2 separate regions of the Homo sapiens genome follow, and region 1 is linked to region 2. The links are contacts of gene promoters, found by promoter capture Hi-C in human tissues and cell types (Jung and others, 2019). All regions are on one chromosome and are shown on one strand. The core of a region is centred on a gene start or on the middle of the fragment in contact, and the rest is flanking DNA. Distances in the headings are between cores, read along the strand shown.

Region 1 (4,906 bases), core at 1,614-4,113, 370 kb after region 2:
TGTGCAGAAGGTGGGGGAGGGAGGACCCTCACTCAGCCGATCAGCTTCTAAAGCCCCCAGGGTTCAAAGGACAGCCCTCGACCTCCTGGCCTGGGTTGGTTTCCAAGACAAGAGCAGGCCTGGGCTGGGGTCCTTGGAGGCCAAGGGGGTGGGAGACACGGAGCAGCGGCAGGAAGAGCAGCTGGTCCTCCAGGCCCTCCCCCTCCTGCTGAGTCACACACAGGGCCTCGCCCGCCCAGGCTGCCTGCTCCGGACGTTCCAGAGGAAACCTGGAAGTGCACAAGGCCCTGACCCCACCCCCGGCGCCTGCACCACTGAGGAAAGGCTGTGATCACGGCCATGCACCTGCAGCTCTGTAGGGCGGCACCTGGACCACGCGTCACCAGGGCACATGCTGCCACCACAGCCCCGGGTGGGCAGAGAGCAGGGCCGGCCGCCCCTCACTACTCGCCAGTCTGAAAGGCAGGAGCAGCTTCCCCCAGGTCCGTCCTCCTCACCGGAATCTCCGGGGCAGTTTTCATACGTTTTGAACAGTCCTAAGTCAGAACCCGCAGGGCTGGGTCCAGGAATCTGGACGTACCTTTTATACCTTGGGCGAGTGTGATCGCAGCTGCCAGCCCTGGTCTGCCCGCCAGCATCTGCCACCTTTAGGATGGGATGGTGCACCACGCTCGTGGGGCCAGACGCCAGCCTTGCATCCAGCTCACCTTGGCACGGCTCTTCCCACTTCTCTGCCCTGGGAGTAACACTCCTTCCGGGGTTTTCATGAGGGTGATGTGATCTGACATGCAGACACCCCGACGGTGGGCCTGGGCTCCCTGCTGCTCAGCCAGTGTGCGTCAGCTTGGCTGGTGAGCACTGAGTATAGGTGCTGTCTTTTTTTTTTTTTTTTTTTGAGACAGAGTCTCGTTCTGTCGCTCAGGCTGGAGTGCAGTGACACGATCTTGGCTCACTGCAACCTCCACCTCTGGGGTTCAAGCGATTCTCCTGCCTCAGCCTCCCGAGTGGCTGGGATTACAGGCGCCCGCCACCACGCCCAGCTAATTTTTGTGTTTTTAGTACAGACAGGGTTTCACCACGTTGGCCAGGCTGGTTTCAAACTCCTGACCTCAAGTGATCCACCCGCCTCAGCCTCCCAAAGTGCTGGGATTACAGGCGTGAGCCACTGCACCCAGCCTGGGTGCTGTCTCAGTGCCGCATTGCCCAGCATGCTGGGAACCTATCGAAGCTGGGGTCCTCCTTGAGAAGGATGCACCCCCACAGAAAACTCCAGATCCCACGCGCTCTCCAGCTCTAAACCCAGAACACCTGACCTCGGCATTCTCCCTCCCAACCCAGCTGGAAGGGGCAATGCTCCACCCAGATAATAAACTGTAGATGGTGGGGCTCTGGCAGAGAGAGGGGCCGGCCGGCCAGAGGCTTGAGGAGAGCGCCACATGGGCAGCCCCCACCCCAGTTTGATGGAATCCAACTGATCTCAGGGCTGAAGCCCTTTCCCCACATGCTGGCCTGGCCCTCAGCTGTCAGGCAGGGTGGGGAGCCGAAGCAGTTCCCAACTGCCTCTCCAGCGTGATGAACACCGACTCACATGCCAAAGCCTACTTCAGACACCCTCTTCTCCGTGGAGCCTCCTTCTGCCTTCTCCCCAGGGCAGATGCTCACAGCACCTCACCTGTTCCATTCTTCTGCGGGTGAAACGTGGTCCTAGGGGGACCCTGTGCATTTTCACCTTTGCACGCTGGCCAGGGGCAGGGTGGAGCCTCGGAACCTGGCTGGTGAAGGTTGGAAGAGTTTCGCATCCTCTGAAAACAGAGGTAGGGCCACGGGCCTGTGGTCCAGGAGACCCTTCCCTGGGAGGGGTCTCTCCTGGCATTCTCCCGACCTGGTGCAGATGTAGTCTCCATCGTGCTGAGGCTTGGGTGTTGGGGTTGAGGGGCAGTGCCCGCCGGCAGCCGCCCTGCACAGCTCTCTGGCCGGTGCAGAGGCCTTCTCTTTCCTCACTCTGGCTTCCAGCCACAACTGTCCTCTCAACCACAGGAAGTCCATGTGCAGCTTCCCAGACGCCTTTCCCTTGACCGTGACTTGAGTCCCCAGGAACTTACAGGAACCTTCCAGAAATTCCCTCTTTATCTCCCAAATCCCATCTGGTTCTGTTTAAGGATTCACCATACTTCCTCCTGCTCTCTGCGCCGCTGAACCGGGCCTGTCTCAGAGCTCGGTGTCATCTTTCTCCCTGGGACAGGGGTGAACCTAGGTCTTGAGGGTGATGGTGGGGTGAGGTCCCCGTGCCTTGGCACTCAGAGCATGGCCTTTCCTCCTGCTTCCTCCTCCTGGCCCCAGCCCTGTCCTCTGCTGTCCTTTAATGACAAGTTACTTTTATTGCCACAGAATCTGCCACTGTCCCCATGAGGAGAGGGACCTGCGATCCCTGCCCGTGGCTTGGGCCTCTCAGGTTTGGACAGCCGGTGGCAGCTCCACCCTCTCAGCCCTTCTCTCCCAGATCTTCGGGCCCAGCCTGGGCTGGAGGGAGGCCGCTGGTTCTCCAGGGCGCGTTCCATGGAGCTGCGGCTGTGGCTGTGGGTATACCAACTGCAAAGCCCCCAGTGGGCCCGGGTCTGTTACATTCGGCAGGGGCTGCCCTTTTTAGCCTGGCCCCCTCCAGCCCAGCCTCCTCCTGGAGACGCTGCCCCCCCTTCCTCCTCTCCATGCTCTGTGCCCATTCGGTAAGCGGGGAAGAGCCAGCGGTGTCCTCTGCCCCAGCTGCATCTCAGGATCAGGGGAGGAGCTGGCGGTGTCCTCTGCCCCAGCTGCATCTCAGGATCAGGCAATTCTCCCCCCAGCCCTTTAGCAAGTCAGGGAGACGCGGTGGCCCCTGCCTGCCAAGGGCAGGAGTGGGGTGGGGGATCAAGAAGGGGACCATTTTCTGGGTTCTGTTGCTCATGAAGTAAGAACTCCTGGCGTGTCCCACACCTGGGCTGCCTCCCTCCCTGGCCTGTGCCGTGGGGAGAGGACAGAGCTCAGCCACGGCTGGCTGCTCTGCCAAGGGAGGAGTCTGAGATCTTGGAGCTCGGAGGAGGGGATGCTCCCTTGGAAAGCATGCGAGGGAGGGAGTCTGTGCAGAAGGACCACTGCCAAATCCCGAACAGCGCGTGCAAGGGGGAGAAGCCCCAGCGTCCAGACGGCCATCATGCAAACAGCTTGGCCCTCACGTGGTGACCGTCCTCACCAGGGCAGCAGCATCTTCAGATGTCAGCTGTATGACACCCAGAGATAAACTTGCTTTTGTTTGGGAGCCCAAAAGTCTCATTACCTGGGGGTCAGGACCAGACGGGGCACCCCAGGGCTTTCCTAGCAGGTCATTTTGTATTGCCAGCTGGGGTCAAGAGGGCCTTGGCCACCAGGCTGGGGCAGGATGGGACTCTGCCTCAGGCTTCCGATGCATGCCTTCCCATGACCGGCCACTGTCCTGCGGATTCTGGATTTGGGGTTCGGGCTCCTCACAGACAGATGGAAGAGGGTCTGGGTGTCTGGCTGCCCACACTGTCCCCCTTGGCCTCACCTCCGAGGGGGCCTTGCAGGTGGCCGAGACCTGGACACCTGCCTTTCTGAGGTTCTTCCTCACCAGTGTCGCCTAAACAAATGCACTCAGGCCCCTGACTGAGCCGAAGGGGGCTCCTCGTCTGCAGGGCCAGGAGACTTTCTTGGGCGGAGCCACACAGGAGGTGCAAGGATTGGGCCCCGGGAGGAGGGGGCTGCTCCCCCAGGGAGGAGGAGGCAGTCCGAGGCCTCGGAAGGTGGGGGCCCTCCTGAACAGAGTGAGCACAGGCCCTGCTGATGCGCCCGGGTCCTGCCAATGATCCCTTTTCCATGTGCAGCGCCTCTCAGAGGGGAAGCAGCGGGGCCACTCCCCAGGCTGCCCTCCTAGGGCCTCAGGTAGCCCCCTTGGCTCCCTGCCACCCTTCTCCTCCCCATCCACCATTTCCAGCCCTCCCTAGGAAGCCCCGTCTGTGGGTCGTGCAAACTCGACGCCTTGGGTTTGTGGATGCTGCAGGGAGAATAACAGGACACGCTGAGTGGTCAGGAGCCGGCCCCCAGGCCTCCCTGCAGCCCAGCTTCGCAGCTAGAGGACTCCCCTGCCCTACAGGTGGGACCCTGACTCTGGTGGAGACCAAGCTGCTGGGTGAGGAGCTGGGCCTCAGGCCCCTATCTTCCAAGGAAAGGTTTTCTCCAGTCTCCAAAGCCAGAATGGTGGGCTCCTGACCCTCATGTGGGGTCAGTGAGGGTTTCCTCCCATCTGGCATCTCCCCGGCCTGAAGCCTGACTCCTCGCCACACAGGCCATGATAACAGGCACCCCCCAAATGTCCAACAGCGGGGGATAATTCAAAGCATGGCCAGGCCTCCACTCATGGAGCATTATGCAGCCATTCAAAAGCAGGTGGGACATTTACAGAGCACGGGGGAAGCTGCTTGCCGTGGCAGAAGTTAAACAGGCTGAGTGCCTTGCACGTGTTTACTAAGTGATAATTCCACCCAATTTATATAATCCTAGGGAGACTCGGGGTTTTAAATGTCATCTTCAGAATGTTCCTGCTGATTACACTGCCCTCATGATGGGAAGCCTGCGTTTACTCTAATGGTAATAATTATTGTTAACAGTGAGGCCTTGCGTCTTCATCAGCATTTCTTAAAGGCTGACCACGAGATTCTTTATTCTTTTTTCTTTTTTCTCGGAGACAGAATCTTGCTCTGTCGCCCAGGCTGGAGTGCAATGGCATGATGTGAGCTCACTGCAACCTCTGCCTCACAGGTTCAAGCAATTCTTCTGCCTCAGCCTCCAGAGTAGCCCGGATTACAGGCGCCCACCACCATATCTGGCTAGTTTTTGTATTTTTAGTAGAGACTGG
Region 2 (4,804 bases), core at 828-3,327:
TGAATGCAGCCGTGATTGAGGTGGAGGTGGAGACAAAAGGCGTGCGTCCCTAGAACATGTTTTGTCCCCACTGCCGGAGGGAATATTCTGTGTCAGCTATCGCACGCACCCTTTCCCTCCATGTGAGTGGACTCCACACTCTAAGCAAGGCGCTCTGGACTGCAAACTCAGCTTGTGCCTCTCTCCAGCCCTGTGGCCTCGCTGGACAATTTTTCTAATCTCTTTGGAGCTGATCTTCATGTTGAAAAAGGACAAGTCCCATCTTCAGATCAACACCTGTCCCAGCGCTGCCATTTTGCCAAGGCTCCTCCTTGGAGTGTTTGTAAGGCACTTTTGCCACGAAGTAACCCAGCCACCAGCCTCAGTGGAACCTCCAAGCCTAATTCTGGAGGAGACTTTAACTCGGTAAGGTTGCCCAAGGTCGCATAGCCCATGACTGCGCTGAATCCTGTTTTTATTATTGGCAAAAGGGAGTTGGGCAGGAAATTCAAGGTAAAGCATTTTGTTTTTCTTTCTTTCTTTTTTTTTTTTTTTTTCTTGAGACGGAGTCTCGTTCTGCTGCCCAGGCTGGAGTCCAGTGGCGCCATCTCGGCTCACTGCAAGCTCCGCCTCCCGGGTTCACGCCATTCTCCCGCCTCAGCCTCCCGAGTAGCTGGGACTACAGGCGCCTGCCACCGCGCCGGGCTAATTTTTTGTATTTTTAGTAGAGACGGGGTTTCACCGTGTTAGCCAGGATGGTCTCGATCTCCTGACCTCGTGATCCACCCGCCTCGGCCTCCCAAAGTGCTGGGATTACAGGCGTGAGCCGCCGCGCCCGGCCAGCATTTTCTTTTTCCCAGTGAAAATAGCTGCCTCGCCCTGTGTTTGGGAGCTCAAAGGCATTCTTGCTCATTGCAAATAATTGAGGAAACAGAGGCGAGTATAAAGAAGAAAATGAAAGGCAAGGTAATCCTAGATTAGCAGAGGGAGATAACCAGGAATGACATTTCTGGGAACTGCGCTATGGTTTGGGAATTTTTTCCTGTGATTACCCACAAACGCACATTTGCACATTTATTCTACGTGTGCACATTCACGTCATCACTTTTTTTTTTTTTGAGACAGAGTCTCGCTCTGTCGCCAGGCTGGAGTGCAGTGGCGCGATCTCGGCTCACTGCAACCTCTGACTCGCGGGCTCAAGCGATTCTCCTGCCTCAGCCTCCCGAGTAGTTGGGATTACAAGGCGCCCGCCACCACGCCCGGCATAATTTTGTATTTTTAGTAGAGACAGGGTTTCGCCATGTTGGCCAGGCTGGTCGCGAACCCTTTACCTCAGGTGTTCCGCCCGCCTTGGCCTCCCACAGGGCTGAGATTACAGGCGTGATCCACCGTGCCCGGCCGCCATCACTTATTTATATTATGTGTTACCTATAGGACTTATCTAAGACCATAATCACTGCCGCGTGTGCTAAGTCCCGCGCGCGTGCACTCAGGCCCCTCTGGATAGACACTGGGGACCCCTGACCACTTATGTCAGGGAAAACGCCACCAAGCGCTCCGGAACCTCAGGGCAGGACCCGCCGCAGCAGCAGGTAGGACCCGCTGGGGGCGCACAGCCCACCTGAGACATCGTAACTACAAGTCCCAGCAACCCTTGGTGCGGGGACAGGACGGGCCACCGGAGTCCGGAGAGACTACAAGTCCCGGCAGGCATGGCCCAGACGCAGGGACTACGAGTCCCCGAATGCATGGCTCCCAGCTTGCGCAGGGCACCCTGGGAGGTGTAGTAGTTGAGGGAGCTAATGCGTATTCATTCCGTCTCAAAGAAGATGCAAATTCCTCAGACCGTCCACTGAGGTGATTGTTCTCACGCAGGCCATGGGCGTGGGCGAAAAACGGGGGGAAAAAAGCCCTGGGAAGCCGGTACCGTCGCGGAAGAAGGCCGCCTGCGCATGCTCACCAGGAGGCCGAGCGGGAAAAGCGCGCGCAGCTGGCCTCACTGCCACAGGGGTGCCCCGCCCCCGGGCCCGCGCGCCCAGTGAGCCTGCGCGGAGGGCGGGGGCCGAGCGTCGCGGGGAGGGGCTCGCGGCGCCTGCGCAGAGCGGCGGCTTCTCTCGCGAGGACGGACGCCATTATCGCATCTCCCCGACAAACACCACGAGAATTCCGCAGCCCACACGGTAATTGCAGCTCCCGCAGCCGGTCGCGCCTCCGCCTCCCCCTTCCCGCGGGGCGAGAGCGAGAGCGAGATCTCCCTCCTCCCTCCTCCTCCCGCCCGCCGGGCCGCCCGCGCCGCAGCCCCGCCGCCGCCAACCGCCCGGGCCGGGCGATCGCCCCCCGGGCCCCGCTCCCCGTCCCCGGCCGCGCCCCGGAAGAGGGGCTCCCGCTTCCTCGCTTCCGCACCCCCGGCCCCACCGCGCCCGGCGTCCGTTGAGCCGCGGCTGCCGCAGCCCGGCCCGGGGGCCTCGCGCTCCCGACCTCTGTCCCGGGCCTCGCCCCGCGGGAAGGACCCGGAGCCACGGCGGGGAGACTGGAAAGGCCTAGAACCGCGCCCGGGCTCCTCTGGGGCCCGAAGTCTCCCAAGGGGGTCGCTCCTGCCAGCCAGGCGGGAGCGACAGGCATCGTTTTTGTGCCTCCTCCGTGGCTGTGGACCGGAGCCCCATAGCCCAGGACTTGCACACGCAAGGGGCGCTCTCGGGGACCGCAGACCTCGGCGACGACCCCAGCCCGTCCCCCGAGGGGCCCCGATGAACGAGGACCTCGGGGTGCCCCCTCCCCAGCACGTTTGTGCGATTTCTGTGATCTAGTCCTTAAGGAAGGTGGCCGTTTTCTTTTTCCCCCCTAGGATGCAGAAAGTAGATGACATTCCATCCACACTGTGTGAGCAAATTGGAGAGATTGCCTTGATAGAGGACTGATGTTTTTCACTGATGAGATGGTAGGGGTTGTCTTGCTATTGGAGAAATACATCATCCCTGAAGAACTGTGAGCAAGTGGAGCGAGTGTGGGCTTTGAAGGGTAGCGAGCTTGCACCCTGACCGGGGAGGGCCCGGGTCACACAGTTGTTGATGTGGAACAGGTAATTGCCCTGTTTGGAGTTGCCTGTTCTGCCCAGGAATGTACTCCAGGGCCTGATGGCGATGCTGGAACTCGCACTACAGTAAATAATTGATAAGAGGAGGCAGTTGTAGGGTTCACTTTTAGCTGGAAGTTCTTAGGGGACAGAAAAATAACTTGGAGTAGTGAGTGGTTCTGAGTAAGCTCAGGAAACGTCAAATAAAAACTGGATCTGGTCATTTAACACGCAGCTCGCAGATATCCAGTGCTAGAAGAAAACACCAAAACGCGGTAAAATTCTGTATGTGGGTCCACTTCCCGTGTCTGGCGATTAAAATAAGAATATATTCTTGCGATGTTGGATTCTGTCATCATTGGCGTTAATATTTTTATTTTTTTGGAGATAGGGTTTCACTCGGTCCCCGAGACTGGAATGCAGTATCGTGATCTTGGCTCACTGCAGCCTCGGCCTCCCTGGCTCAAGTGATCCTCCCACCGCAGCCTCCTGAGTAGCTCGGACCACAGACGCCACCACCCCGGCTAATTTTTGTATTTTTCGTAGAGAGGGGGTTTCGCCTTGTTGTCCAGCCTGGGGCTTTAATCTTTTTAAAAAAGAGCTTCCATTTGTGATTCCACGCTGCGTGGGGGCAGCTCAACATCTCGGGTGCTTCATCATGACCCAGGAGGCAGAGGCTGCGTCCACTTTATAGATGAGGTGACTAGGCCCGCAGACACTAAGGGACTTGCTCAGATTTACAGAGCCAGGGTTCGAATTCAGTCTGTCTGAAGCCTATGTTCTTAAAAAAAAAAGCCCATATATTTAGTATTTTAATCAATATAATGTATACAATAGGAACGTCAATGAAAGACTTACAATGAAAAGCAATGGTCCCCTGCCCCACCTCTCAGCCCCGTTCTTCAAAGAGGTTTACATCTTGAGTGGTTTCTTTAGGTCATTCTCCACAGCTCTGAGTAAGCTGATCCTTTTTATTTTTTTCTTGAGATAGGATCCCCTGATGTTGCCCAGGCCGTACTCGAACTCCTGAGCTCAAGTGATCCTCAGCCTCCTTAGTAGCCGCTAATACAGGTGTGAGTGACTGCACCTAGCTCTAAGCTGATATTTTGTATTACACAGCCTTGTCTTTCTATTACGATGGGGTGATGGAGCCCTTCTGTCATATCCCAACTCTTCTATCCCCTGGACTGTCTGTGTTAGGCCTATGCAAATACTGTTCTCTTCACGGACAAATTGAGTGTTTCCCTTCCTGTACAGCGTGGATTTTTCTGTTAGTCATGGCTTTTCTCTTGGCACTTTCTGTTCCCATCGACTCCTTACATTGTTTTAAATTCTCAAGGATAGTGTCAGGTCCCCTTTCTCCTTCAGCCCCTGTCCTTCTCATCTGGATGGGTTAGCTTGCACACGAGCCAGCCTGATATTTTCCTTTCTTCTGTAGCTGGGTATGTTCAGGAATGTTTTCATCTTGGCTCTGTTCGTTTCCACAGGAACCTCTGGCAAGTGCTCTTCCTCCTTGTGGAGACCCCTCTCCCTCCCTGAACGCTCTTGGATCTTCTCTTTGGTGTTAATGATGTTTTACCCTTGTGTGTGCTGAGGTGTGTGGATTCCTACGCCGGGGACTCTGACTCTGGTGCTTTGTCCTTCAGCTCTGGGAAGTTCCCTTGTTCTGTCTGAGAAGTTCTTCCTCTCCAGCTCTGCTCTTCTGTCTTAGGAGTTCCTGTTTGTGATGGACGTTCTAGGTGGAGCCCTGGA

The links. Contacts are between HindIII fragments. The study calls those that stand out against the background at their distance.
Region 1: a contact is called between a fragment that was not itself captured here and the fragment with the promoter of BANP in region 2, in 1 of the 25 tissues and cell types used here (lymphoblastoid cells).

The regions. Positions count from the first base shown.
Region 1 is chr16:88,315,670-88,320,575 of GRCh38, forward strand. It overlaps a transcript of ZNF469 not described here. Among named protein-coding and RNA genes, the nearest start is that of ZNF469, 65 kb to the right of the region's middle. RefSeq lists an enhancer at 114-408. The HindIII fragment of the contact is 9,018 bases long and covers 1-4,906 here.
Region 2 is chr16:87,949,357-87,954,160 of GRCh38, forward strand. BANP (BTG3 associated nuclear protein) reads left to right here and starts at 2,078. Exons shown (of 14, transcript NM_001386991.1): 1 at 2,078-2,159. RefSeq lists enhancers at 1,434-1,743, 2,003-2,645 and silencers at 1,934-2,233, 2,244-2,363, 2,394-2,453, 2,474-2,573. The HindIII fragment of the contact is 14,887 bases long and covers 1-4,804 here.